Linked DNA regions of Homo sapiens: all the other regions are linked to region 1. Evidence: promoter capture Hi-C in human tissues and cell types (Jung and others, 2019). All regions are on one chromosome and are shown on one strand. Each heading gives the region's core, a stretch centred on a gene start or on the middle of the fragment in contact. The rest is flanking DNA. Distances are from core to core; before and after follow the strand shown.

Region 1 (6,872 bases), core at 1,102-3,601:
CGTGAGCCACCACACCCGGCCCAAAATACTCCTTTTTGATGCCTGCCTAAAGGTGGCTAATGGACTGGCTTTGCAGTGTAACTCAGATCCTGGGGTTAAAACTTTCGCCAAAATCCATTGTTCTATAAATAAGCCAAACGACTTCCATTGACCAAGCACTCTGACTTCCCAAACACTGCCAAGAACACATCCAGCTGACCACCTGGTATAAATGTTTAATAGCCAAACCCAAATGTCTAAAGCCTGCTTACTCAGCAGTCCACTAAGGCATATGTACAGGTTCAAAAGCAACAATATGGCATGTGACAGGGTCACCTGGCAGGTTAACCAGGCACCGAAAGTATGAGCCACCCATATGTGTGGATTCGTCCTAACGCTGTCAGCCCACCGGGTCCTGAGTCCTCTCTCTGGTGACAAGTGGGAAGGGTGTGAGAACTGGAGACTGTCCACATGTGGCTTCATCTAAAAGGTATGACCAGAGGCATTACTGACATCCCAGGGGATTCCTGACCCTAGCTGACAGGTGCCCCAGTTAAAACACACCCCAAAGCTAGGGCTGCTGGAACAGAAAACAGCTCCCCTCAAAGGTCTGCAGCAGCCCCTCTGCAGGCACACCGCCTCAGGCTACATATCCTCAAATTCAGGGGATCTTGGAATAACTCGTGCATTGCACAATCCCACTAACAAGTGCGGAAAATTAAGTTACTTTAAAATTACAAACTTGGGCCAGGCGCGGTGGCTTCCCAGCACTTCGGGAGGCCGAACTGGGCGGATCACTTGAGGTCCGGAGTTCGAGACCAGCCTTGACCAACATGAAGAAACCCCGTCTCTACTAAAAATACGAAATTAGCCAGGCGTGGTGGCGCACGCCTGTGATCCCAGCTTTTCGGGAGGCTGAGGCAGGAGAATCGCTTGAACCTGGGAGGCAGAGGTTGCGGTGAGCCGAGATCACGCCATTGCACTCCAACCTGGGCAACAAGAGCGAAACTCCGTCTCAGGAAAAAAAAAAAAATTACAAACTTGAAGATTTAAGCCAACCTTTCATCACACTTGTGTTCACGTGCATATTTTTCCATTGTAAATATGACACAACCCAAAACCTTCTAATCCCATTGTTTTTGAAATCTACCTTGAGACTGTTACAGTCTAAAGGACACCTCATGAGTACAACTACCTCATCTGCCTCTCATCTTGCCAGCATCTTAATCCTGTGTGACTTTCTCTACATTCACCTAAACTTAACCCTTGCTCATTTGCACTCAGTCACCGCTCCAAGGCCAAGGGGAACCGTTCAGAGAGAACCCCCAGCGGGAGGGCAAGCCCCACTCCTAGCCGGGCCACTCCCCCGCTCCACACGGCATTTGGGTCTTTCTGACATTTTCCCCCACGAATGCAAGACACCGGGGCAGCCTCTGAGGGGGCAGCCAGACAGCCCCGGACCGGGCTGCGGAAGAAAGAGCGTGGCCTTTGTTTACTGCGGTGACCTTAGGCGTAGAGGAAGCCGACGCCCGCTTCGCGGCCCCAGCCCTACCCCCTCCCCTCCCACGGCCCGCTGCCCCCACCCCCGCCCTGCCCCTCCCCCAGGCCCGCCTCCCCACGCCCCACCCAGCCCTTCCCGAGTCCGCTCCCCACGACCCTGCCCCTACCCAGGTCGGCTCCCCAGAGACCATGCCCCACCCCGGGTCAGCTCCCCTATCCCCTCCTTCCCCAACCCTCCCCTCTCCAGACCCTGCTCCCCCGACCTGGTCCTGCCCCTCCCCCACGTCCGCTCCCCACTGCCCTCCCCACCCCTGGCCGCGCTAGCCTAGTGGCCGTTGGGTTCTGGCCACGATCCGGCGGTGCCGGGACTTGCGCGGAGACCCCGCGGGGGCCACCACTTCCTTCCGCGATCGCGCTTGGTCTTGGCAGCCGCAGGGCCCGGGTCTTCGGGCGGCGGGCGGGGGCGGCGGGGCCTCACCGAGATAGATGTCTCCGAAGGAGCCGCTGCCGATCTTCCGGCCCAGCCGGTACCTGTTCCCGACTCTCAGCTCCATGGCGGCGGCGGCCCGATTCGCTCCTGCCCTCCCGGCCGCTTCCTGGGTCTGAACTCTGGGAGGCGGCGCCGCTGCTGCCGCTACTGCGGGTCCGGCTCCCGGCTCCGCCCCCCTCACGGCCCCGCTTTCACCATCGCTTTCCTGTCGCCCCGCCGCTCCCAGCGCCTCAATACGGGGCGGATGGGACAGTCCGAGCGCCGCCGCCGCTGCTCCGGCCCCTACCGGTCCCGCTTGCCCTCTCCCCGCCGCGGATGGACTCGGATCTTCCGGGCCTAAATCCCCTTTCAGCTGCCTAAAGGAGCCGCCGCCATCGCGCTGTGACGTCACTTCCCCTAGCAACCCGGCGGGGCGGGGCCGCGGCGCTCCAGGGGCGGGGCCGGGCGGGGCGAGCGCTCCAGGCCTCCTCCCGACCCTGCGCCGTGCCCAGCCCCTCTGCCCTCCTGTTACCCCGGGACCTCGGGCCGCCAGCCCCTTCCACGTGCAGGCTCCTGCTGCTCTCGCGGGGGCTTTTCGTGTGTCCCCCGAGATGTCGAGGAAGCCAGGTGAGTTCCTCGCGACAGGCGGTGCCCTTTGCAGGAGGGGACAGGTAGCTGAGGCGTGGACAGAGTGACAGGCCAGGCTCAGGGGACACAGGTGAGACCCCCTCACTGGGCTGCCAGTTCCCGGGCTTGGGGCATCCCAGTACGTCAGCGTCTGCGGCCTTACCTCCTGACACCTAAGGCCAGAGACAGAGCAGGCCCGCGCCCTGGGAGGTCCTGATGTCCAGCCTGAAGATTGAGGACAAAGCCACCACCTTTCACAAAATGAGGCCAGACCACCTGCCTCCCTCCAGTCCCTGCGGCCTGGAGACGGAGTCAACATTCTTATCTGTGTTGGATCTGAATGTTCCTCCTTGCAAAGGAAACAAGGAGTGGACGTTCAGGCTGATGGCCAGCTTCAAAGATCGGGGCCTTTGATTCCCATCACTGGGAAGAAAGCCCTTCAGACAAGCCCCCCCAGGCTGCAGGTGCATGGGGACCTTGAAGAACCCGTCCCCATGGTCCCACGTCCATGTGTCTCGAGACCTGTCGCATCCTCGCTGAAACTCAAGAATGTGAAACAGGTGAAGGTGTGTTTTGACGCATTAGCATACCAGGGCTGTGGTGTGGGCACCGCCGTGTGAGTGAGACAGCAGCCTCAGCCCGTCCAGGTCACTGCAGAAGAGGAAAGCAGCCCCCACAGGCCCCACAGTGGTGCTCGCCTTTCTCCACCCCCCAGTCTTTCCTCTCCACCCCTCAGCTCCAAACAGCTGGAGGTCAGGTCGGGGAGACGGGCGTCCATTCCCGAAATTACATAGCAGGGCCTGGAGACAGGAGATGCCGCCGGCCAGACCACCATCAGTCACTAATGAGGGATGGGCAGTCGGAACTGCCCAGTTTCTGAGTTACAGAAGCCGGGGGTGGGGGGCTGCCAGACTAGTAAAACTGACCTTGTTGGCGGAATCGCTCACGGCTTTTCTGTTGATGAACAGAGTCCAGCTCTCCCACGGGTGGCTGTGATCCTTCTTCCTGGGGAGTCCTGCTGTCCCTGACTAGGGGCACCTGCCCACCTGTCAGCTGCTCCTCCCTCGGCTGGTCCTCCTGGGCTCTGATGGCCCCAACATTTCTAGCTCTTCTCACCCATAGTGCCCCAAGCTTCATGCAGCTGCGGCAGGTACTGTGCCCGTCTGCCTGGCTTTTGTGTGTTTGTGTCTTGACTCTATAACCCGTGCACACGGACTGGGCTGTGGTGTAGTGGGGATGGCAGGAGCCCTGGGAACATGCGGGCTGGGCAAGGTGAGGCAGGCTGATTGCTGTGGCTCCCCCACCACCAGCCCCAGCCACAACAAACTGACAAAGGAAGAGGACAGTGGTACCCTGGAGCCCTGGGGTCAGAGAGAGGAGGACAAAGCAGGTGTGTAGCCCAGGGAATGACAGCACCCCTTCCGAGAAGACAGGGAGGGTGCAGACATGGCCAGGTTCTGAGCTAGAAAACTGTCAGCAGGGGGCTGAAGCTGAGGATAGTCATTGCCAAGGAACAGCCTCCGTCACAGAGGAGACGCACAGATGCGGTGACGAGGGAGGGATGCGGGGCTGGTGACCGCTGGGAACGGATGTGTGAGGCAGAGTCTCCAGGCATGGTCTGTGGGGCGGTTTGATGATACTAGAACATCTCAGAGTAGAAGGACGTCCCGACCTGCAGACTGGAAAGCCCCCAGAGCTCCCGGCAGGACGTATGAGGGCCAGCCCACACCCAGGTCTGTCCTGATACAACTGAACGCCACAGTGTCTTAGCTCCTTTACTGTTGCTATCAAGAAACACCTGAGGCTGGGAAATTTATGAAGAATCATGAGGTAATTTGTATATTTGTCCACACTAAACCTCATGTTGAATTGTAAACCCCAAGGCTGGAGGTGGCTGGGTCATGGGGGTGGATTTCTCAGGAATGTTTAGTACCATCCCCTTGGTGCTGTCCTTGAGATAGTGAGTTCTCCTGAGATCTGGTTATTTAAAAAGTGTGGGGCACCTCTCTCTCTCGCTCACTCGCTCGCTCGCTCCTGCTCTGGCCATGTGACGTGCCCGCTCCCCCATTGCCTTTCACCATGATTGGAAGCTTCCGGAGGCCTCCCCAGAAGCTGAGCAGAGGCCAGCACCATGCCTCCTGTAAAGCCTGCAGAACCAGGAGCCAAGTAAACCTCTTTTCATTATTTATTTATTTATTTATTTATTTATTTTGACACAGGGTCTCGCTCTGTTGCCCAGGCTGGAGTGCAGTGGCGTGATCTCGGCTCACTGCAACCTCTGCCTCCTGGGCTCAGGTGATCCTCCCACCTCACCCTCCTGAGTAGCTGGGACTACAGGCACACGCCACCATACCTGGCTAATTTTTCATATTTTTTGTAGACATGGGGTCTTACTGGCCCAGACTGGTCTCAAACTTCTGAGCTCAAGTGATCCATCCACCTTGGCCTTCCAGAGTGCTGGGATCACACGCATGAGCTACCATGCCGGCCCTCTTTTCTTTTAAAATTGCCCAGTCCTAAGTATTTCTTTATAGCAAGGCAACCACAGCCTAACACAGCTCACGATGCTGAGGTCTCAAAAGTTCAAGATCGGGCGTCTGCCTCTAGTGAGGGCCTTGCTGCCGCTGCCTCCACTCATGGCAGAAGGTGAAGGGCAGCTGGAGTGTGTGCAGACCGTGTGCGAGAGGGAGCTGGAGGAGTAGGGAAGTACAGGCCTTTTTTTTTTTTTTTAAGATGGAGTCTCGCTCTGTTGCCCAGGCTGGAGCGCAGTGGCGCAATGCCGGCTCACTGCAACCTCCGCCTCCCGGGTTCAAGCGATTCTCCTGCCTCAGCCTGCTGAGTAGCTGGGATTAGAGGCATGCGCCACTATGCCCGGCTAATTTTTGTATTTTTGTAGAGACGGGGTTTCACCATGTTGGTCAGGCTGATCTTGAACTTCTGACCTCGTGATCCGCCCGCCTTAGCCTCCCAAAGTGCTGAGATTATAGGCATGAGGCACCGTGCCGGCCGTGCAGGTGTTTTTAAAAGCACCTCTTGCTGGAACTAGTAGGAGTGAAAACTCACTCATTACTAAGAGGACAGCACCAAACTGTTCGTGAGGAATCTGCCCCCATGACCCAGACACCTCCAACACTGGGGCTCAGATTTCAACCTGAGGTTTGAAGGGGACCAACACCCAAACTATAGAAACAGAGAAAGAGGAAAGTTTACAGATACCCATTTAGAAAGAATCTGCTAACAAAGGGAAAGAATCAGGCTGGGCGCGGTGGTTTATGCCTGGAATCCCAACACTTTGAGAGGCCAAGGTGGGTGGATCACCTGAGGTCAGGAGTTTGAGACCAGCCTGGCCAGCATGTGAAACCCTGTCTCTACTAAAAATGCAAACATTAGCCAGGCGTAGTGACGTGCACCTGTAGTCCCAGCTACCCAGGAGGCCAGGCAAGAGAATTGCTGGAGTTCATGAGACAGAGGTTGCAGTGAGCAGAGATCCTGCCACTGCACTCCAGCCCAGGCAACAAGAGCGAGACTGTGTCTCAAAAACAAACAAACAACAACAACAAAAGGAAAGAATCAGACTGGCTTGGGACTCTGCTGTCCCCTGCCCGTGACCTCCCAAAAGCGTGTGTTAGAGACTGACCTGCCTAGTGCGTCAGTGGAGGGGGCACTTTGGAGAGGGGCTTGGATCGTGAGGCCCCGCCCTCGTGAATGGCTCAGTGCCTTGTGAAAGGGCTTGATGGAGGGAGTTTGGTCCCTTTTCCCCTTTTGTCTCTCTGCTGTGTGAGGACACCATGTTCCTCCCCTCTGGAGGATGCTGTAACAAGCTGTCATCTCGGGAGGAGACACCAGGCCCTGACCAGACGCTGAACATGCCAGCACCTTCATCTTGGACTTTCCAGCCCCCAGAACTGTGAGAAATAAATTTCTGTTCTTTATAAGTACCTAGTCCATGGTGTTTTGTTACAGCAGCATGAACAGACTGAGATAGCGGCTTACATGTAACCGGAAGCTGCAGAAAAACATCTTCAGACAGCTGAGACGGCTCCCAGGACTCGTGCCTGGCACAGACACCATCTGCCTGGCAGGGCAAAGAAAGGCGTCTGTGAGTGTGGGAGGATTCCGAGTCTAACACCCTGAGCCCAGCCAGGAAGGGGCCAGGAAGGCCTCCTCGTGAACAACGAATGAAACAGATCCCAGATCTCAGACAGGGCGGGGAAGGGGAGGGGTACCATGTCAAGCAGCACTCTGTGTAAGTCGGCACCTGCGCACACTTGCATGCAGACGTGTGTATTGTGAGTGT
Region 2 (6,872 bases), core at 1,851-4,350, 420 kb after region 1:
ATTTGAGGAGGCCAAAAAAGGAGGATGGCTTGAACCCAGGAGGGTCAAGGCTGCAGTGATCTGCAATCACACCACTGCACTCCAGCCTGGGCGGCAGAGAAGACCCTGTCTCTGAAAAAATAAAAAACAAAACATAATGATCTCAACTTCTTACTATTTTTCAGAATATCTTTTCTTAACTCTAAAACAAATATTTGGTAAATCAAAAACCTGCAAGGGTACACCCGTGATATCAGTTTTTTCTACAGCAGCTCAGGCCAAGTAGACAATAAAGCTCTTGATGGGATTTTTTTTTTAAGACAGAATTTCGCTCTTGTTGCCCAGGCTGGAGTACAATGGTGCGATCTCTGCAACCTCCGCCTCCCGGGTTCAAGCAATTCTCCTGCCTCAGCCTCCCGAGTAGCTGGGATTACAGACATGTGACACCATGCTCGGCTAATTTTTGTATTTATAGTAGAGACAGGGTTTCTCCATGTTGATCAGGCTGGTCTCGAACCCCTGACCTCAGGTGATCCGCCCGCCTTGGCCTCCCAAAGCCGGGATTACAGGTGTGAGCCACCGCCCCCGGCCCGGTGGGAGGTGTATTTTTAGCCTAAATCCTCCCTCCGTGTCAAGGGAAAGCCTTTATTACAAAGCATTGGACCATTGTTTTGGTTCGTCCTCAGTTCGGCATGTAGCAACCAAAAGTCACGCAGCAGAAGCATCCCCGAGCCTCCATTCAAACCAACCAGAAGGAAGTTTCACAAACATTCTGTGCGTGACCCTTCTCACACACGCCCCACGGCACTCACCTTCAATCAAACTCAACACTGTCAACCGTCTGCTCCCCCAAAACACGCACAGCTCTTAAAGCGCCATATTCGTCTGGGCGTACACGTTGTTGGGTGCTTTATTCCTGTAGCTCTGGTAGGGTTCATCCCTCACTGAGCCCAGACCCCGAGGGCACAGTGCAGACAAAGCCCTGTCCTCCAGGCGCTCAATCTCCAGCCCTGTCCTCCAGGCGCTCAATCTCCAGCCCTGTCCTCCAGGCGCTCAATCTCCAGCCCTGTCCTCCAGGCGCTCAATCTCCAGCCCTGTCCTCCAGGCGCTCAATCTCCAGCCCTGTCCTCCAGGCGCTCAATCTCCAGCCCTGTCCTCCAGGCGCTCAATCTCCAGCCCTGTCCTCCAGGCGCTCAATCTCCAGCCCTGTCCTCCAGGCGCTCAATCTCCAGGGCAGCGCTGGCCCTCGGACTTTGCCACAGCGACATCCGAACTATCTAGAAATGTGACGAATGGAAGCTTTTTGTTTTCTTTCCTTCTAATTACACTTCCACAGCCACACGTGGCTCATGGCATCCTACTGGACACCACGGTCCTAGAGACCTGCCACCGAGCGGGGAGGGGGGTAGGACATGCGGGGGCAGCGGCGCCTGGGGACAGGTAGAGACGCAGGCTCCCCTCCTGCCCCACGGAGCACACTCTGCACCCACCAGCTGCCAGAGACTCCCCCGCATGCTGCAGTTTCAGGAGGCCTCTGGGTGCTGGTCGTGAGCCCAAGCCCATCTCAGCTGCTCCCCCAAACTCTGCCCATTCCTCACCCCGTCCCCTAAGCTGAGGTGTGGCCGGGCACCTGAGTCCCACCCCACGCTCCACAGTCTCAGGCCACCCCCTCCAGCCGTGCCACACTCCCTTGGTGCTCACGCCGCCTGCCTGGAGCTGCCCTTAGGGGACAGCCTGCACCCTCTACCGAGCAGCCTCAGATCCCGCTTCCTCCCACCCTCTCCCGCTAAGTTCGTCTCTGGCAGGACCCTGGACCTGGGGCTTCCCAGACCCTTCCCAGGCCCCAGAGCTGACAGGTCCTTCCCACCAAGACTCCATCTCCACGCCCGGCTGCCCTCCTCCGCCCAGGACTCAGAGCGGGTCTCTGTTGGAAGCGTGGGTTCAGCCCCGAGGCGCGGCAGGAAGGTGGGCACAGGCTGGGCTCCTTCCACAGCCTCAGGGTCGGCCTCGTCCAAGCTGTTCCAGGGATGCGCGTGGGTGAAGGCCCCGCCTGCTCCTCACTCCCAGCCGAGGTGTTCGCCTCTGCGCGTTCCCCCTTCTCCTGGGTTCCTGCCCCCGCCTTTCTTTCCCCGGAGCCGTCCACCCCCTCGCCGGGCGCCGGCTTTCAAGCCTCAAACTTGGGGGATCCCCGGGCTGCCTGCCTGGGAGCTCTGGGCGCTCCGGCCTCCCCTCGCCCTGGAACCCGCTCTCCGGCCGCTGTCGTGGGGGGTCCCCTCTTCCGCACGCGAGTCACCTGTGCTCCTTCCTCTCCCCCGGACACGCGGGACCCCTGGCCTCGGGACCGGACCCTGGTCTCCCCTCCCCTCCGACCCACGCGCAGACCCAGCACCTGGGCGCCTGCTCGCCGCGCTCCGCCCCAGGAGCCCCGGAGCTCGCGTCCCCTCCCGCCCCTCCTGCCCCGCGGCCGAACGCGCACTTGCGGACTCGAGCCCCCGCCCCGGGTCCCCACAGCAGCGGCCCCAGGTCGGGAGGAGCCCAGCGCCCGGCCCAGCCGCGGGCTCCCGCTGCGCGCAGACTGCGGAGAAGGATGGAGACTGCGCCGCGGGGCCTCGAGTGGAACTGGGGGTGCAACAGGGACGCCGCAGCACGAGGGCCAGGGCCGGGCGGAGAAAGGCCCGCCCGCGAACCGCGCTCCTCCTCAGCCCCGCGCCCCCGGACCGGGACTCCTACCCTCCCCGGCCACGCGCCCCGGCCTCTTCCCGACCCCTGCCCGGTCTCGCGTCCCCGGACCCGGACCCCCACCCGCACCCCCTCCCCAGCCCCGCGCCCCTCCCCGGCCCCGCGCCCGCACCCCGGCACGCCCTCCGCCCGCGCTCACCCGCCGGGTGGCCGTACGGGGACTCGGCCGCGCCATCCTGCAGGCTCGCCAGGATCTCGCCCTTGCCCACGTCGCTGTCGCCCACCAGCAGGAACTTGAGCAGAAAGTCGTAGGCCCGGACCGGGCTGCCCAGGGCGCTCATCGTGACGGCCCGGCGCCCCCACCCATGCCCGGCCTGCGGGGCTGAGCGCAGAGGCGGCGGCCCGGCCCCGAGAGGCGCCGCGCGGGCCCCGAGTCCTTGCTCGCCTCCGGCCCCGCCCCGCCGCCCAGCGCTGACAGCGCGCATCCCCGCCCGGCCCCGCCATTGGTGGACCGCAGTTGCTAGGGCAGCTGCGCGCTTTCACTGGCTTGGTTGTCCGTCCATCTTACTCTCGTCACCGCCTCCGGGCTGTCGCCCACCCGCCCCTCCTGAAAGGTCGCTGTCACCACAGCCAATGGAGGCCCGGAGACGGGGCAGGGGCGGAGCCAGAACAAGCAGGAGGCGGGGACTCTGCTCCCGCAGCCAATGGCGGGGCGGGGTGGGGGCGATCAGGGGGTGGGGCCGGGTGTTTACACTCTCGCGTGCGCCCGTGAGCGCCACGAACTCGCTCCCACGGTCGTCGGGTCTGCACGCCCCGAGTCGGGAGGGGCGAGGGGCGGTGCAGGGTCCCAGCGTGGGGCCTCCCCACCTGCCCACCAGGGAGACCTCGGGTGCCTGGCCGGGTGGGGCTCGGGGTCGGTCCAGTTGGCGGACGCGGCCGGAAGGCCCCCGCAGGCCGCCTCGCCGGAGGAGTCCCTGTCGCCGTAGAATCCAGGCTCGCGGTCTCTCCCCACGGTTCATCCAGGGCCTCGTCGTTGCCCCATTTACGCGGCGTGCCTGAATGCCTGTGTGTGCACATGCGCCTGTGTACGTGTGCATGTGTTCGTGTGTGTGCATGTCTGCGTGTGCATGTGTGCCTCTGCAGATATCTGCACATGTATGTGTCTGCGTGTGCATGTGTCCCTCTGCAGGTGTCTGCACATCTATGTGTCTGCGTGTGCATGTGTCCCTCTGCAGGTGTCTGCACATGTATGTGCGTGTGCATGTGTCCCTCTGCAGATGTCTGCACATCTGTGTGTCTGCGTGTGCATGTGTGCCTCTGCAGGTGTCTGCACATGTATGTGCGTGTGCATGTGTGCCTTTGCAGGCATCTTTGCATGTGTGTGTCTGCGTGTGCTGCTTCTATGCATGCGCTCCTATGTGTGCGTGCGCTTGTTTGTGCATCCATGCATGTGTTTGCGTGCGTGCTGGAGGAGAGCATTGGGTGGGACCCTCCAGCCTTTTGGCTTCTCCTCTGCTCTAGAGAGCAAGGGTTGCCAGGCCGAGGTCTGCCCTTCGCTCTGAGGGTCTCACCAGGTGCACATTGGTTTATTTGGTGCAGAATTCAGGCAGCAGGCAAAGGGCGAGCTCCGTCCAAGAAGAAGGATAATGCCCCCACTACTTCATCCCCTCCACCCTGCGTTGTGTAGGGAACTGCTCTAGACCCCATTAGAAGTTTTTTGTGGGGGAGGAACAGAAGAGGGAGCGGAAGAAGAATTACAAAAGAGACTGAAGTCAAGATTATTATATTTGTCATTTGCATTCATTTGGACCTAGAAAATGTTTACTTTGGAATGCCAATTTAGTTTGCAACACCTGTTATTCATTGGTTGATTAGTTGCTTTAGTTACTAATGCAGCCACATTTTTTTTTTTTTGAGACAGAGTCTTGCTCTGTTGCCCAGGCTGGAGTGCAGTGATGTAATCTTGGCTCACTGCAACTTCCACCTCCTGGATTCAAGCCTCCCAAGTAGCTAGGATTACAGGCATGTGCCACCACACCCAGCTAATTTTTGCATTTTTAGTAGAGATGGGATTTTGCCATGTTGGCCAGGCTGGTCTTTGACTCCTGACCTCAAGTGATCGACCTCGGCCTCCCAAAATGCTGGGATTGCAGCACTGTTTTTTTTTAGAAGGAAGGTCAGAGGAAGAAAAGAGGATGGAAGGTGGACGCTAGAAAACTATGAGAAAGATGGCATTTAGTCCCCAGCCCCACCACTCTGCCAAAAAGAATTCAGGGGAGTTTCCTTCCCATCCCTAACCCTCAGTCTCCATGTTCCAATCAGCTGTGGGTCACATGGCTATTACCTAGTGAGGAAAGGGTACCTTCTTTTGCTCGCTCCCCACCTACACATCCAGACTCACTGTACAATAGGGGTCAGGAGGCCCCCAGCCCACCCTCGGGGTCACACCCAGCAGTCCAGCAGTGTTCACGGTGGGGCATGGAGAGGGGTGGCCAGACCACTTCCTACAGAGGACAGGTGATGGGGGAGCCCTTGTCTGCTCTTCTCCTGCCCCACAGAAGGTCCTCACCACCTCCTAGTTGTCACCTCCAAGCTGGCCTTGGCTGAGCTGGAACATGGCCACTCCCACCTGGAGGGCCAGGTAAAATAACCACGTCAGAAGAGGGCTGTGTTCAGATATGGTGTCCATCTTCTTGCCCCAAACATTGCTTTCACCAAACAGAGGTGTTTATTTCTACAGCCAAAGCAGGTTTCCTCCCACCAGGGCCCCCAGTTTCCTGAGGGACAGTCCTGTGGTGGGATACCTCTTCCTCCTCCCCAGTTTCAGTACATGTGTAAAGTCCAGGCAGAGGGTGGAGGTGTCTGGACAGCACTAGCCTACCTTCTGCCCAACTCAGAGCCAGGCTTCCAGACCTGTCCATCTCGGATCATCGGAACATTCCTCCCTGTGGCCACGCTGAAATCTCCTTGAACATCCACCCACCCATGATCTGGGGCTGCTCTGGAGACTAGGCCTCTGTGGGCAGAAGGAATGAAAGGAACATTTACTGATGCTTCTCCACGAGTAAAATGTCATCAGAAGGTGGAGGTGAGGCCGGGCGTGGTGGCTCATGCTTGTAATCCCAGCACTTTGGGAAGCCAAGGTGGGTGGATCACTTGAGGTCAGGAGTTCGAGACCAGCCTGGTTAACGTAGCAAAACCCCATCTCTACTAAAAATACAAAAATTAGCTGAGCACGGTGGCGCTAGCCTGTAGTCCCAGCTACTCAGGAGGCTGAGGCAGGAGAATTGCTTGAACCCAGGAGGCAGAGGTTGTAGTGAGCCGCTGTCACACCACTGGACTCCGGCCTGGGCAACAGAGTGAGATGCTATCTTAAAAAAAAAAAAAAAAAGGCCGGGCGCGGTGGCTCAAGCCTGTAATCCCAGCACTTTGGGAGGCCAAGGCGGGTGGATCACGAGTTCAGGAGATCGAGACTATCCTGGCTAACACGGTGAAACCCCGTCTCTACTAAAAATACAAAAAAATTAGCCGGGCGTGGTGGCAGGCGCCTGTAGTCCCAGCTATTTGGGAGTCAGAAGAATGGCGTGAAACAGGGAGGCGGAGCTTGCAGTGAGCCAAGATCGTGCCACTGCACTCCAGCTGGGGTGAGAGAGCGAGACTCCGTCTCAAAAAAAAAAAAGTCATCTTGTTTAGGCTTGTCTGCAGTCGTGAGAAAACAGGAGACAAAGGTTCACCACGTATGAAGTTTTGGTTGTCTGGGTTGAATGGAGTCCCTAAAAAGATTTATTGAAATCACACCCTCTGGAAGCTGTGACTGTGACCTTAGTTGGAAATACTTTGGTCTTTGCAGATGTAATCAGGTTAGGAGGAGGTCCGTAGGGTGGGCTCTAATCCAATAGGACCATGAAAGGGTCTCAGAGACCTGTGGGGGCCCATGGGCCCCACTGTGAAAACTGCTGCTCTGAGCCATGCCTGTGCTCCTGCCAACTCCTGCCTGTGACCATGTAGGTGTGGCCCACGAGGAGACTCCAGCAGTGAGATGTGAGGGCGTCTGCTGGGGGTTCGCAAACAGGAACGCAGACTCCAAGTCTCCTCTCAGCGTCTGGGCACTGTGGGCCCACCCACGAGCCTCCTGTCCTGTGATACAGAGCAGCTCCCTGGTGCCACCTCCAGATGGATTTTCTGTTGCTGGAAGTTAAACCAGCCTCAGTAAT
Region 3 (6,872 bases), core at 2,138-4,637, 380 kb before region 1:
GCGGCTTTGACCAGGCCCCCAGCTGGCTCCCCCGGGACTCACTCTCGCATTATAGGCGTCCAGCTGGGCATCCAGCTCCTCTGCCGAAAGCTGCTGCTTTGAATTCCTGCCGGCACCTCTGCCTCTTCCACGGGCGCCTCCGCGGGTGCCTCTCCGGGTGCCTCCACCACCACCAAAACCTCCAGCGCCACGGTTTCTAGTCATGCCACCTCTGTTTACGCTAGCAAGGAAGACGAAACCGTTCACACACCCGGAAGGACCCTAAGAGCGACGCAGCCTCACCCTCGGCCAATCCCCTTCCCCAGAGGCCCCGGAAGTCACCTCTGTGCAGGCCTCCGCTGTGCGTCAATCTGTGACGTGACAAGCTGAATGTTCATGGGGCGGCCTGCGGCAAAGAATACGAGAAGGCACGTTCTATTGAGAGGCTCTGAAACCCACCCAGCTGGCGCCACACCCTGGTCTCCATGCAAACACTGGAAAGGGCCTCTGTGCGTCTCAAATGCCCCCGACAAGGGAAATGGCCTGGAGATACTGGTGGGAGAACAAAATGGCAAGGAAGCAACCCCACCAACACCTCCTCACTCCTTCTCAGTCCAGACTAGGTGGGCTGCTCGCTGAGGTATCGGGGTGCTCGTGGGTGGAGAGGTGTGGGTGACCTGACGAAGAAGAACCGGTACCTTTGTCTTTACGACTACAGCCCCGCACTCAGAGGTGTACTATGGCGGTTCTGAGAAGGCTTCACAGAAGTGAATCTTCCGGAAGGAGCTGAAGGAGGGGAGGGATGTAGCTTGCTGGATGGGGGTTCACAAGAGGTTGGTCCAGATGTGTGGGGCAGCATGAGAGGTGGCAGATGGAAGAGAGAGACAAAGGGGCAAATGCAAAGTGTCCTCAGCCACAGGGGTACCCCATATTCCTACCTGGACAGGTGCCAGCCCCAAACTCCACAAGCCCCACAGTCAGCGTGGGTCCACCCCCAGACTCACCATCCAGAGGGACGCCGTTGTACTGCTTCATGGCCTTCAGGGCATCTGCCTTCCGCTCAAAGTGCACGTCTGCTGTTCCTAAGCTGCGACCAGAGCGATCATAGTGCACAGCCGCCTTCTTCAGCGTTCCAAATTCAGCAAAGAGTTCCTGGGAGTTGCAGAGAGCAGTTGTCAGAAAAGCAACAAAACTGCGTTCCTTCTGGTGGCCCAGGGACAGGCCCTGGAAGCGTGAGTTGCTTTGGGGGTGGTTCTCTGGGAGGCAGGACAGTGGTTAACGGGAAATGAGGGAAGGGCGGGGCAGGAGGGACAGCAACTTCCAAGAGCACCTGGGTCTGAGGGCTCCTGCCATTGTGGGGACCTGACACGTGTACCACGATGCAGGTAGAGGAAGCTGCAAAGCCCACTAGCAACGGGCACAAAATTAAGCCACTATCCTCTTCAACAAAGGAAAATGTACAACACACCCAAGGGCTGTTCCAAGAAACGGTAAAGGCCAAAATCAAGAGCAAGGGAAGCAGTCCGATATCAGACCAGCTTGAAGGGCCTGTAGATTCGGGAGCCCTGACCCCAGCCCCTCCCCCAAAGGCAGATTCTGGCTCACCTTTCCCTCTCCTCCTACTCAAGCCTGCGGCAAAGTCTGAAGTCAAGCGCTGTCATGGAAACTGCCCTGACCTCAGGCAGGCTGGGAGTTGGAGAGGGAACCCAGAGTGTGGGGATACTCCGGCCGCAGGCACACAGCGGGAACTGGAGTTCACCAAAAGCGGTTTCCAGTGGATGCTAGAAACCACCTTAAAAAAAGTGTTGAGACACTGTGAGTGCTCACTGGCCCTACTCTGTCCTCCCAAGGCAAATGGCTGGGCTGTGGGCAACTGAACCCTGCCCAGCCATCTCCAAAACTGATTCCCAAAAAGTCATTTCTTAACCAGAAAACAAGTTGAAATGCCATTGGGATTCAATTTTTCTTTTTTTAAAAAAGAAAAGCTTCAACCAAAGATGGATTTGAGAGTCATGTCACTGACGGGACACGGCGGTGGGGAGTGATAAAACCACAGCGTACAAGGTCTTTATAAGACAGTACTCAAGGCAAACAGAGCCAGAAAAACAGACTCCCTGTGCTTCACAAGATACATAAAGAAGATTCTTTTTCTCACATTAACCCACTAAGACAGGCACAAAATTTAAAAAGCAACTGGGCTGGGTCTAACAGCCAAAAACCACTCACATTTGGTCAGTCTTTGTCCCTGTTAGAAACTGGAAGCCCTGGCAGGGGATTTTCACTCACAGAACCCATCTTCAGACTAACAGCAGCAGTTCCTCAGGCTCAGCTAGGCTCGCACCTGCCTGCGCACTGACCCCGGCTTTACTAGCACTGGGTCTGTCCTGCAGCCCTTCAGAGCTGGGAGGGCTCCCTTCGCTAAGGCGGGAAGGGGACTCAGGGCCACATCCCCAAAATCACGATCCGTCCTGTGCAGGGCGAACGGCTCACCGAGAAGCCCTCGTCTCTTACCTGAATATCGGCGTCTGAGACTCCAAAATCCAGATTGGACACCAGCAGTTTCCCACCTGTCTCCACGCCGGCACCACCGCCGAAGCCACTGTCGAAAAGATCGTGCTGCCACTTGTCGGGAAGTTGTTTTGGCTGAAAAAAAAACCGCAACAAGAGCAGATCTGTGAGTCTCAGTCCAGGGCTTTCCTGACCCTCACGGCTACTCCGGACCCTTCCTCTTCCCGGCCTGAGAGGATCCGGCCGAAACGGGGCCGCCAGCGCTCCCTCCGGCGCTGCAGCTGCCCCAGCCCGAGGCCGCACGGTCCCACCGCGGCCGCACAACTTCAGTTCCCTTAGACTAACTTCCCGCCGCCTGTGCCGCGCCCAGCGTCCCCTCCTCTCCTGCCACGAGGCCCCAACGTCCGGAACAAACAAAGAGCTGGGAAGGGTCTCAGCCTCCGGGACCGGACCCCGAAAGAACGACCTCGCTCCCGCCCACCACCCCCTCCGCGCCCACACGCACCCTCCGGACCTCCGGGCGGCCGCTCCACCAGCCTTATCCACCCGCCGGCCCGGGTCTCCGCCGCGAGCGGCCCCGGCCCCAGCCCCGGCTGGCCCCCTCCCACTCTCCGGCGCGGCCGGCCTCCGCACTCACCCTGCTGTAGGGCGCCGGTCGGTTCCTGCCGCCTCCGCCGGCCGCGCCGCGGGCGATGGCCGGCCGGTTCCGGATGGGCCCGCCGCCTCGATTCACTCGCGCGGCGGCCTGCGCCCCACCGCCGCGGCCGCCCTGGGAGCCGGCCCGGCCGCGGCCCCGGCCCCCGCCCCGGCCGCCTCGCTGGCTCCGGTTCAGTTTAATGATGTCGTCCAGAGACATGTCCATTTTGTCGGCCATGGCGGGCGCGGAATCGGGCATCGGCTCGAGCCCGCGCGTCAGCACGCCGGCACGTCACTTCCGGCGCCGCGTGAGGCCTTCCGGTGCCACGGCCTCGGAGCGGCTGCTGATTGGCCGCTGGCGGACGGCTGCGCGCGCGGGACGGGGTGAGGCGGGGAGGCGCGTGCGCACTGGCGTGCGAGACTCGGCGGGCGCTGTTGAGGGAGTCGGGCCGCGACTGTGGTCGTTTTTATACCTTCCCGCGCGGACGCCGGCGCTGCCAACGGAAGGGCGGGTAGGGCGGTGCGTGATTAGGTTGGCGAAGGTGCGAGGGCGCAGGGGGTGGGGCGGCGGCCGTTGGAGGCGGAGCCTACGCGCCCCTCCCTCCCCGCACGCTCCGCCCGATCGGCCAGGGCTGGGGGCGCTGGGGGCGCTACGGGCGCGGCGGGTGCCTGGGAGCTGCTGGGAGTCCTTGTTTCCGCTCCCGCCCAGGACTGTGCGCTCGGCTCGCGGTGGGGTCCGGCGGGCGCGGCTTCGGCGGGCGGCAGCCGCTGCAGACGAGCTGCGGGTTGGTTTTTTGGTCTCCACCTGCAGCCCCCCCAAGTCTGCACTGTCACATTTTGCCAGTCATATCCTTTACAAGTTTTCTTGCGGGCCGGGCGCGGGCCTCACGCCTGTAATCCCAGCACTTTGGGAGGCCGAGGCAAGAGGTTCGCTTCAGCCCAGGAGTTTGAGACCAGCCGGGGCAACATCGTGAGACCCCCATCTCTAAAAAAAAAAATGAGCTGGGCATGGTGGTGCACTTCTGTACTACCAGCTACTTGGGAGGCCGAGGTGGGAGGATTGCTTGAGCCCAGGAGGTCGAGGCTGCAGTGAGCCGTGGTGGCACCACTGCACTCCAGCCTGGGCGACAGAGCCAGACCCTGTCTCCAAAAAAAAATTATTTTTGCAACTTATTAATGAAAACCAGTGTGCCATTTCATTGATTTTTTTTTTTTTTTTTTGAGGCAGTCTCATTCTGTCGCCCAGGCTGGAGTGCAGTGGGGCGATCTCGGCTCACTGCAACCTCTGCCTCCTGGGTTCAAGCGAGTCTCCAGCGGCAGCCTCCCGAGTAGCTGGGACTACAGGCACGTGCCACCATACCTGGCTAATGTTTGTATTTTTAATAGAGACAGGGTTTCGCCATGTTGGCCAGGGTGGTCTTGAACTCCTGACCTCAGATGATCCGCCCGCCTTGGCCTCCCAAAGTGCTGGGATTACAGGCATGAGCCACCACACCCAGCCCATTTCATGGATTTTAAGTTGTTTTGAGATACTTGCTTTTGTTTTTGTTTTTTGAGTCAGGGTCTCCCTCCGTCACCCAGAGTGGAGTGCAGTGGTGTGATCTTGGCTCACTGCAGCCTCAAACTCCTGGGCTCGAGCTATCCTCCCACGTCAGCCTCTCAGGCAGCTGGTGCACGCCACCACAGCTGGCTTTTTTTTTTTTTTTTGAGACAGTCCCACTATGTTGCCCAGGCTGGAGTGCAGTGGTGCGATCTCGGCTCACTGCAATCTCTGCCTCCCAGGTCCAAGTGATTCCTGTGGCTCAGCTTCCCGAATAGAGCTGGGAGCTGGCGTGATCTCAGCTCGCTGCAACCTCCGCCTCCCAGGTTCAAGTGATTCTCTTGCCTCACCCTCCCGAGTAGCTGGGATTACAGTTGCCCACCACCACACCCGGCTAATTTTTTGTATTTTTAGTAGAGACAGGGTTTCAGTATGTTGGCCAGGCTGGTCTTGAACTCCTGACCTTGTGATCTGCCTGCCTCAGCCTCCCAAAGTGCTGGGATTACAGGCGTGAGCCACTACGCCTGGCCTCTAATTTTTGTTTTTTTGGTAGAGATGGGGTTTCACCATGTTGGCCAGGTTGGTCTCGAACTCCTGACCTCAAGTGATCCACCCTCCTCGGCCTCCCAAAGTGCTGGGATTACAAGCATGAGCCACCACCTGCGGCTAATTTTTTTGTATTTTTTGTAGAGACGGAGTTTCGTCATGTTGGCCAGGCCCATTTGAGATCTTTGAAGATATCCTCAACGTGAGGTAAAACCAAACTCCTGACTGTCCTGTGCTCCCAAATGTGATCTCCTTGTCCGTAAGGAGCTGAGTCCCTTCCCTTGGAGAGAAGAGTGTGCCCTTTCTCTAGATGGCTAAAGAAACCTCACAGATAGTTCTTTTTTTTCCTTTTTTTTTTTTTTTTTTTTTGGTAGAGACTCAGTCTCACTGTGTTACACAGGCTGGTCTCAAACTCCTGAGCTCAGGCGATCCTCCCGAGTTGGCCTCCCAGAGTGCTGGGATCACAGGTGTGAGCCACAAAGCGGATTGCTGCTGGGGCTTGCTGTTCTCCCGTAGCTCCCCTGCAGCCCTGACCCTCTGGGCCCAGAGCCCTTTACTTGTTATTTGTTTTAATAGAAACGGGGCTCATAGCAGGGCATAGGGGTTCACGCCTGTAATCCCAGCACTTTGGGAGGCCGCAGTGGCAGATCGCTTGAGGCCAGGAGTTCAAGACCAGCCTGGCCTACATGGTGAAACCTCGACTACTAAAAATACAAAAATTAGTCGGGCGTGGAGTCACGTGCCTATAGCCTCAGCTACTCAGGAGGCCGAAGCACAAGAAATGAGCTGAGATCATGCCACTGCACTACAGCCTGGGTGACAGAGTGAGACTCTGTCTCAAAAAAAAAAAATTAATAAAAATAAAAGTAAAATAAAATAGAAACAGGGCTCACGATGTTTCCCAGGCTGGGTTCGGACTCCTGGGCCGGTATGATCTTCCTGCCTTGGCCCCCTGAGTAGCTGGGACTGCACTGTGGCAGGCTTATACCTGTGTTGGTGCCTAAACGTTCTAGCTCTGCAGACTCAATTTAGCCAGTCGTCCTGTTCCCTCCGCCGCAGGCTCTGCTGCCATGAAGGTGAAGATTAAGTGCTGGAACGGCGTGGCCACTTGGCTCTGGGTGGCCAACGATGAGAACTGTGGCATCTGCAGGATGGCATTTAACGGATGCTGCCCTGACTGTGAGTGTCCCCTCCATGCTGTCTGAGCGGCCCCGACTGTGAGTGTCCCCTCTGTGCTGTCTGCTGCCTGCTGGACTAGCCTCAGTAGCTCCTGTTAAATACCTGCACGAAATACCCAGTTTCATTTTCTTTTTTTTTTTTTTTTTTTGAGACCGAGTTTCGATCTTGTTTCCCAGGCTGGAGTGCAATGGCGCGATCTCGGCTTGCCGCAACCTCTGCCTCCCGGGTTCAAACGGTTCTCCTGCCTCAGCCTTCCAAGCAGCTGGGATTACAGGCATGTGCCACCATGCTGGGCTAATTTTTTTATTTTTAGTAGAGACGGGGTTTTGCCTTGTTGGCTAGGCTGGCCTTGAACTCCTGACCTCAGGTGACCTGCCCGCTTCAGCCTTCCAAAGTGCTGGGATTACAGGTGTGAGCCACTTTGCCTGGCCCACATTTTTATTTTCTTTTCTTTCTTTCTTTTCTTTTTTTTTTTTTTTTTTTT
Region 4 (6,872 bases), core at 4,373-6,872, 300 kb before region 1:
TCTCGCTCCCCTGGTTCTCAGACCTGCAGACTTGGATTGAATTAAATTATATTGTAATTATATTATAAACCAATGTATTGAGTTATACACTGGTTTTGGGTATTGAGTTATACACTGGTTTGAGTATTCAGTTATACACTGGTTTATAATACACTGGTTTTCCTGTCTCAAGCTTGCAGACAACCGACCATGGGACTTCTTTCTCAGCCTCTATAATCATTTGAGCCAATTCCCATAATACATTTCCTCTTTTTTTTTTGAGATGGAGTCTCACTCTGTCACTCAGGCTGGAGTACAGTGGTGTGATCTCGGCTCACTGCAACCTCCACCTCCCGGGTTCAAGTGATTCTCCTGCCTCAGCCTCCCGAGTAGCTGCGACTATAGGTGTGCAGCACCACACCCGGCTATTTTTTGTGTTTTCAGTAGAGATGAGGTTTCCCCATGTTGGCCAGGCTGGTCTCTTGTATATATCTGTGCATATCCTATTGGTTCTGTTTCTCTGGAGGACCCTATAATACACTAACCTAACCTAACACAGAAAAGCAAATTAATTCAAATAACTTTTGAACACAATACTCTATGTTTCTTTAATGGGACATACTCTAAAGGACAAAAATAGCTACAAAGACATCTTGAAATTTCCACAGTAGATCTGTTGTTAATAGCAAGATTGCCGCAGTACCTCTGAAACTATTTGGAGGGCATTTTAGAACAAAGCAAATGAATAAATATACTGATTTACTGACAATTAGGGTTCTCACTGCGGACAAAGGAGGTATTAGGTTGAACCATGTAGGTTTTGTCATTTTTTTGTAGATCAAAAATGATCGGCTGGGCGCAGTGGCTCATGCCTATCTATAATCCCAGTACTTTGAGAGGCCGAGGTGGGAGGATCACCTGAGGTCTGGAGTTCAAGACCAGCCTGGCCACCACAGTGAAACCCCATCGCTACTAGAAATACAAAGATTAGCTGCTCATGGTGGCAAGCGCCTGTAATCCAAGCTATTCAGGAGGCTGAGGAAGGAGAATCGCTTGAACCCGGGAGATGGGGGTTGCACTGAGCCGAGATCGTGCCACTGTATTCCAGCCTGGGCAATAGAGCGAGACTCTGTCTCAAAAAAAAAAAAAAAAAAAAAAAAAAAAGCCTGGGTGCGGTGGCTCACACCTGTAATCCCAGCACTTTGGGAGGCCGAGGCAGGCGGATCACAAGGTCAGGAGATTGAGACCATTCTGGCTAACATGGTGAAACCCTGTCTCTACTAAAAATACAAAAAATTAGCCGGGTGTGGTGGCCGGTGCCTGTAGTCCCAGCTACTCGGGAGGCCGAGGCAGGAGAATGGCGTGAACCTGGGAGGTGGAGCTTGCAGTGAGCCAAGATTGCGCCACTGCACTCCAGCCTGGGTGACAGAGTGAGACTCCGTCTCAAAAAAAAAAAAAAAGAAGATAAAAAAAGGTTAACTAGGGCAATTTAATAGAATTCAACCAAATACAAATATGGAATGAGGGAAGAAGGGGGAGAAGGCTGAGGTGTGGCTTAGAAATATTCAGATGAATTCATCACACTAATTGTGTCCCCTGAGAGGGCCCAGAAAGCAGTGACATCCCAGTAGCCATGAGCACACTCAGCACCCAGAACTTGGTCTCTAAATCCCATTTCCTTGTAAAAGGGATTGGGGTTTCTCTGAAAAATGGCTGACTTCAGGGCTTGGGCAGAGAGGAGATGCCCAAAGAATAATGGAAATGCCAAAAGGATGCAGGAAAGATGTCCACACTTGGACAATTAACTGTGGATTAACTCAGAGTATGATACCAACATTAGATTTCCCAATTTTGTATGAAATTATGGTGGCTATATAAGAGACTGGCCTTATTTTATTTATTTATTTTTTTGAGACTGAGTCTCACTCTGTCGCCAAGGCTGGAGTGCAATGGCGTGATCTTGGCTCACTGTAACCTCCACCTCCCACAATCAAGCAATTCTCCCACCTCAGCCTCCCAAGTAGCTGGAATTACAGGCACCTGCCATCACGCCCAGCTACTTTTTGTATTTTTTGTAGAGATAGGGTTTCACCATGTTGGCCAGGCTGGTTTTGAACTCCTGACCTCAGGTGATCCACCCGCCTTGGTCTCCCAAAATGCTGGGATTACAGGCGTGAGCCACTGCACCTGGTTGAGACTGGCCTTATTCTTAGGAAAGAGAAAAACTGAAGTATTTAGTGGCGAAGGTGCTCAATGTCTTTACTGCAGCCTCGACCTCCTGGGCTCAAGTGATCCTCCTGCCTCAATCTCTCAAATCGCTGGGACTACAGGGACATGCCACCATGCCTAGCTAACCTTTGTATTTTTTGTAGAGCTGGGGTCTCACTATGTTGCCTAGGGTGGTCTCAAACTCCTAGGCTCAAATGATCCTCCTACTTTGGCCTCCCAAAGTGCTGGGATTATAGGTGTAAGCCACTGTGCCTGGCCAGAAAAAGTTTTTACATGTATATGGAGAGAGAGAAAGAGAATATGATAAAACAAATGGGGTGACATGTAAACACTGATTTATCTGGCTAAAAGATATACAGGAGGCTGGGCGTGGTGGCTCACACCTGTAATCCCAGCACTTTGGGAGGCTGAGGCGGGTGGATCACGAGGTCAGGAGATTGAGACCATCCTGGCTAACATGGTGAAACCCCATGTCTACTAAAAATACAAAAAATTAGCCGGGCATGGTGGCAGGTGCCTGTAGTCCCAGCTACTCGGGAGGCTGAGGCAGGAGAATGATGTGAACCCGGGAGGCGGAGCTTGCAGTGAGCCGAGATTGCACCACTGCACTCCAGCCTGGGCAACAGAGCGAGACTCCGTCTCAAAAAACAAAACAAAACAAAACAACAACTAGCTGGGTGTGGTGCTGCACACCTGTAGTCCCAGCTACTCGGGAGGCTGAGGCAGAAGAATCGCTTGAACCCGGGAGGCAGAGGTTGCAGTGAGCTGAGATTTCGCCACTGCACTCCAGCCTGGCGACAGAGGGAGACTCCATCTCCAAAAAAAAAAAAAAAAAAAAAAGATATACAGCAGGAATTCTTGCTTTTGCAAACTTTTCTTCTCTTTCTTCCTTCCTCCTCCCTCTTCTTCTTTCTTCTCCTTCTCCTTTTTTGAGACGGTATCGTACTACGTTGCTCGGGCTGGGGTGCAGTAGTTATTCATAGGCATGAATAGTGGTTCACTAAGGCTGGAACTTAAGTAATTCTCCTGCCTCGGCCACCGGAGTAGCTAAGACTACAGGTGTGAGCCACCTTGCTCGGCTAAGTTTGAAATAATATCAGGATAAAAGATCATCCCTCCTATCAAAAAAAGCATAGGAGCCAGCTTAAAGGAGGTCTCACTGGCCAAATTCGGACCAATTTGAGCATCAAAAAGAATGCTGACTGAATGAAAAAAATACATGAATTCATATTAATAAATATATATATTTCAAGATGGGGTTTCACTCTTGTCGCCCAGGCTGGAGTGCAATGGTGCGATCTTGGCTCGTTGCAACCTCCATCTCCCAGGTTCAAGTGATTCTCCTACCTCAGTGTCCCGAATAGCTGGGATTACAGGCACGCACCGCCATGCCCGGCTAATTTTTGTACTTTTTTTTTAAGTAGAGACAGGATTTCACCATGTTGGCCAAGATGGTCTCAATCTCTTGACCTTGTGATCTGCCCAACTCAGCCTCCCAAAGTGCTGGGATTACAGGCGTGAGCCACCGCGCCTGGCCATATTTAATTTTTTTTTTTTTTTTTTTTTTGAGACAGAGTCTTGCTCCGTCTCCCAGGCTGGAGTACAGTGGCGTGATCTCAGCTCACTGCGAGCTCTGCCTCCCGGATTCACGCCATTCTCCTGCCTCAGCCTCCCAAATATTTAATAACTTTTTAAAGAAGGGGAAGCTTGACCGAAAGTGACTATAAATGTAGAAGAAACAATAAACTTGGGAAGCCATGATTTTGCAGCTTTACGGTTTAACACTGAATCTACTCATTAACTGATGCTAAAACTGTTGGGCAAATGGTTATTGGGAAAACTTGATGCTTGTGGTCTCAGAGAATGACCTCACGCATGCCTTAATTACTCCACAAGGAGCCACGGACCTTGACCATGGAGGAATTCAGCAGACCCAAAGCTGACCAAGTGGTTCAACTTCACGTCCTCACTCATGGCCACGCTGATGTCCTGCACCTCCTGCTGACTTGTCACCTCCCTTCATCATTGCCCCAAACGTTTAACCAAGGATCCAGACTGTGGGACAGTCTAAGGAAAATAGGAACAGACTCTTCAAAAACGCCACTAAAGAATTAAAACCCACCAGGTGATGTGTGGCTCAGTAAGGTTCTGAGGTTGCACAGAGCATGGGACTGGCTGGCTGGATGGGAGGGCTATGGCTAGCCTGGGGCTTTCCCCAGGTTTCTCCAATGTACATAGATGTCCGTGTTTGTCAGCATACAGGTGTGTGTGGGTGACATGGATATGTCATCGACAGGAAGGCACAACAGCACCCATGCAGAGATGTCCTTAGACTCAGCAATGACTGCCGGGTGCGGTGGCTCACGTGTGTAATCCCAGCCCTGTGGGAGGATTGACTGATAACTGCACCAGTTCCCCCTTCCACAGGCTACTGGGCAGCTGAGCCCTAGCCAGGAGTCCGCAGAGACAGGCAGGCACATGGAGAGAGGAGTGCCAAGGCCCGGCTGAGCCATGGAGGTGGGGGGCGGGGCGGAACACGTGCGAGTGCTGTCCATGAGTGGCCCAGGTGCTGGGAGCTAAGCACATTCGACGGCTGCGAGTCAGGAGGGCAGCTCCTTCTGGAAGCCTGGAGCTGGTGAGGCCAGGTGCTTTCCCTGCTGCGGTGGCTGGCGATGGGAGTGTTTCCTGAGGCTGCCACCAAGCCCCTCCTCAGCATGGGTTGGTGCGGGAAGTCCTTGAGTGCCTGTGGGTCGGCAGGAGCTCCGGTGAGACTCAAGTTCGCTCACCCCACGGTTCTGAAACCGGTCTCCCGCCTTTCCTACCCTCAGGTTTAGGGACCGTCGCGGCAGCCCTAGGGCTGCCAGATTCTGCACTCCCATTTTAGGATGAAAGAAATCAGGTCTAGACTGAGGGCCACGAGTCCCAACACCCAGGGAGGATCCGTACAGGGGCGGGGGGACTGCCCCAAACCATAAGGTCAGGAGGTGGACGCTGACCACAGGGACAGGTGGGCAGGGAAGAGGCTCAGCTGCTGGAGTGGAGGAAGCCGGGAGGGTCGGGGGAGAGCAGGGCACCGAGCTGGGGACGTGTCAGGGACGAAGCGAGGGTGGGCGAGCGCGGACCGCTGGGACCCCGGGGCTCAGTGCCGCTCACCGGGGGTGACCGCGCGCCCAGCCCCGGCCCAGCCTGGCCCCGGCGAGCCCATCCAAGCCGCGCTTCCCGGAGGCAGAGGACGACCGCGCTTTCCGGGTCTGGCGCGGGCTTTGGCGGCCCAAGGGCGGGGCCGGGGCGCCGTGGGTGGGGAAAGGGCGGGGCCTGGCAGGACCCGGAAGTGCGCTGCGGCCCCGCCCCCTGGCCGCGTGGCTGCGCGTCCTGGCTGTTGCCGATAAAGTTGTTTGACGCCGGCCCGGCGGCGGGTCACGTGAGCGGAAAATGGCGGCCCCGGCAGGCGGCGGAGGCTCCGCGGTGTCGGTGCTGGCCCCGAACGGCCGGCGCCACACGGTGAAGGTGACGCCGAGCACCGTGCTGCTTCAGGTGCGGCCGCCCGCCCGGGGCGGACGGGTAGGCGGGCGGGGGGCGCTGCGCCGAGGCCCCGCCCATTGCGGTCGGCGTCCCGGTGTTCGGGGGCGGGGCCTCGGCGGCCAATGAGCGGCCTCCTGAGCGGCGGCCCCGCCCCCTGCTCGCCGTCACCTGCGCTTCCGCTGGGGTCCCGGGGGTCCCGGGGGTCCCGAGTGGGGGCGGGGCGGTGGCGAGCCTTCCCAGGGGTGAGGTAGAACGGCGCCGCGTGTCACCCGCATCGAGTACTCGGCGCCCGGCCGAGCCCAGCTCGCGAGGGCGCCGGGAAGAGGGAGGAGTGGAGCCCTAGACCCGCGTTCCCATTCCGGGGCGTCCCCCGGAGCGGGAGCCCGGGTTGCGCGGTGGCAGATGTCCCGGCCGTGGGGCCTGGAAGCGATTTTTGCCGAGTCACTCACTGCACTTTTACTTGGGCACCTTGTGACCGCGAATCAATTAAATGTAAAAGTATTGGCTGGGCGCGGTGGCTCACGCCTGTAAATCCCAGCACTGTGGGATGCCGAGGCGGGTGGATCACGAGGTCAAGAGATCAAGACCATCCTGGCTAAAACGGTGAAACCCCGTCTGTACTAAAAAAATACAAAAAAATTTAGCCGGGCGTGGTGGCGGGCGCCTGTAGTCCCAGCTACTCGGGAGGCTGAGGCAGGAGAATGGCGTGAACCTGGGAGGCAGAGCTTGCAGTGAGCCGAGATCGCGCTACTGCACTCCAGCCTGGGAGACAGAGCGAGACTCCATATCAAAAAAAAAAAAAAAAAGTATTTATTGAGCCTCTGCTGCGTGGGGGACCGTGAGGATCCGAAGGTGCACACGACTCGGAGTTTGCGGGAGCAGCCCACGGCGTGGGGTCCCCAGGCCTGGGCAGGTGGAGGGCGCAGCCAGGAGGCTGTTGGTGCCAGGCGTGCAGAGTGCGGAAGTGGGGCGCTCCCGCAGAGGCTGCGCGGGACCCCTTGGTGCAAGGCCACGGCTTTGGCTTTTTATGGAGAAGAGGGGCGGAGGCGGTGCAGGCAGTGGCAGCAGGTGCACAGAACCGTGCCAGAGCCAGGGGGTAGCTTGTGCTAGGCAAGTTTAAGGCAGGTTGCAGAACTACAGGG

The links. Contacts are between HindIII fragments. The study calls those that stand out against the background at their distance.
Region 2: the fragment with the promoter of RAB40B here is called in contact with the fragment with the promoter of CSNK1D in region 1 in 1 of the 25 tissues and cell types used here (dorsolateral prefrontal cortex).
Region 3: the fragment with the promoter of ALYREF here is called in contact with the fragment with the promoter of CSNK1D in region 1 in 4 of the 25 tissues and cell types used here (dorsolateral prefrontal cortex, liver, lymphoblastoid cells and 1 more).
Region 4: the fragment with the promoter of ASPSCR1 here is called in contact with the fragment with the promoter of CSNK1D in region 1 in 2 of the 25 tissues and cell types used here (dorsolateral prefrontal cortex and lymphoblastoid cells).

Annotation. Positions count from the first base shown.
Region 1 is chr17:82,271,349-82,278,220 of GRCh38, forward strand. CSNK1D (casein kinase 1 delta) reads right to left here and starts at 2,352. Exons shown (of 9, transcript NM_001893.6): 1 at 1,958-2,352. The coding sequence starts at 2,033. It overlaps LOC124904089 (a long non-coding RNA gene), which reads left to right and starts at 2,430. Exons shown (of 2, transcript XR_007065953.1): 1 at 2,430-3,725; 2 at 6,542-6,872. RefSeq lists silencers at 1,752-1,801, 1,852-2,041, 2,282-2,491 and an enhancer at 5,353-5,852. The HindIII fragment of the contact is 10,787 bases long and covers 1-4,185 here.
Region 2 is chr17:82,695,598-82,702,469 of GRCh38, forward strand. It overlaps RAB40B (RAB40B, member RAS oncogene family), which reads right to left and starts at 3,101. Exons shown (of 6, transcript NM_006822.3): 1 at 2,858-3,101. The coding sequence starts at 2,999. RefSeq lists silencers at 2,830-3,259, 3,280-3,669. The HindIII fragment of the contact is 28,650 bases long and covers 1-6,872 here.
Region 3 is chr17:81,888,199-81,895,070 of GRCh38, forward strand. ALYREF (Aly/REF export factor) reads right to left here and starts at 3,388. Exons shown (of 6, transcript NM_005782.4): 1 at 3,125-3,388; 2 at 2,491-2,622; 3 at 984-1,131; 4 at 322-385; 5 at 43-220. The coding sequence starts at 3,382. ANAPC11 (anaphase promoting complex subunit 11) reads left to right here and starts at 3,525. Exons shown (of 4, transcript NM_001002248.3): 1 at 3,525-3,643; 2 at 5,354-5,416; 3 at 6,269-6,388. The coding sequence starts at 6,280. RefSeq lists an enhancer at 207-1,406 and silencers at 1,210-1,374, 3,405-3,944, 4,825-5,040. The HindIII fragment of the contact is 25,438 bases long and covers 114-6,872 here.
Region 4 is chr17:81,972,007-81,978,878 of GRCh38, forward strand. ASPSCR1 (ASPSCR1 tether for SLC2A4, UBX domain containing) reads left to right here and starts at 5,623. Exons shown (of 16, transcript NM_024083.4): 1 at 5,623-5,742. The coding sequence starts at 5,641. LOC105371939 (a long non-coding RNA gene) reads right to left here and starts at 5,479. Exons shown (of 2, transcript XR_933953.4): 1 at 5,362-5,479; 2 at 3,962-4,951. It overlaps LOC124904087 (a long non-coding RNA gene), which reads left to right. Exons shown (of 2, transcript XR_007065951.1): 2 at 4,105-4,329. RefSeq lists enhancers at 4,235-5,008, 5,009-5,780 and a silencer at 5,259-6,118. The HindIII fragment of the contact is 10,548 bases long and covers 2,044-6,872 here.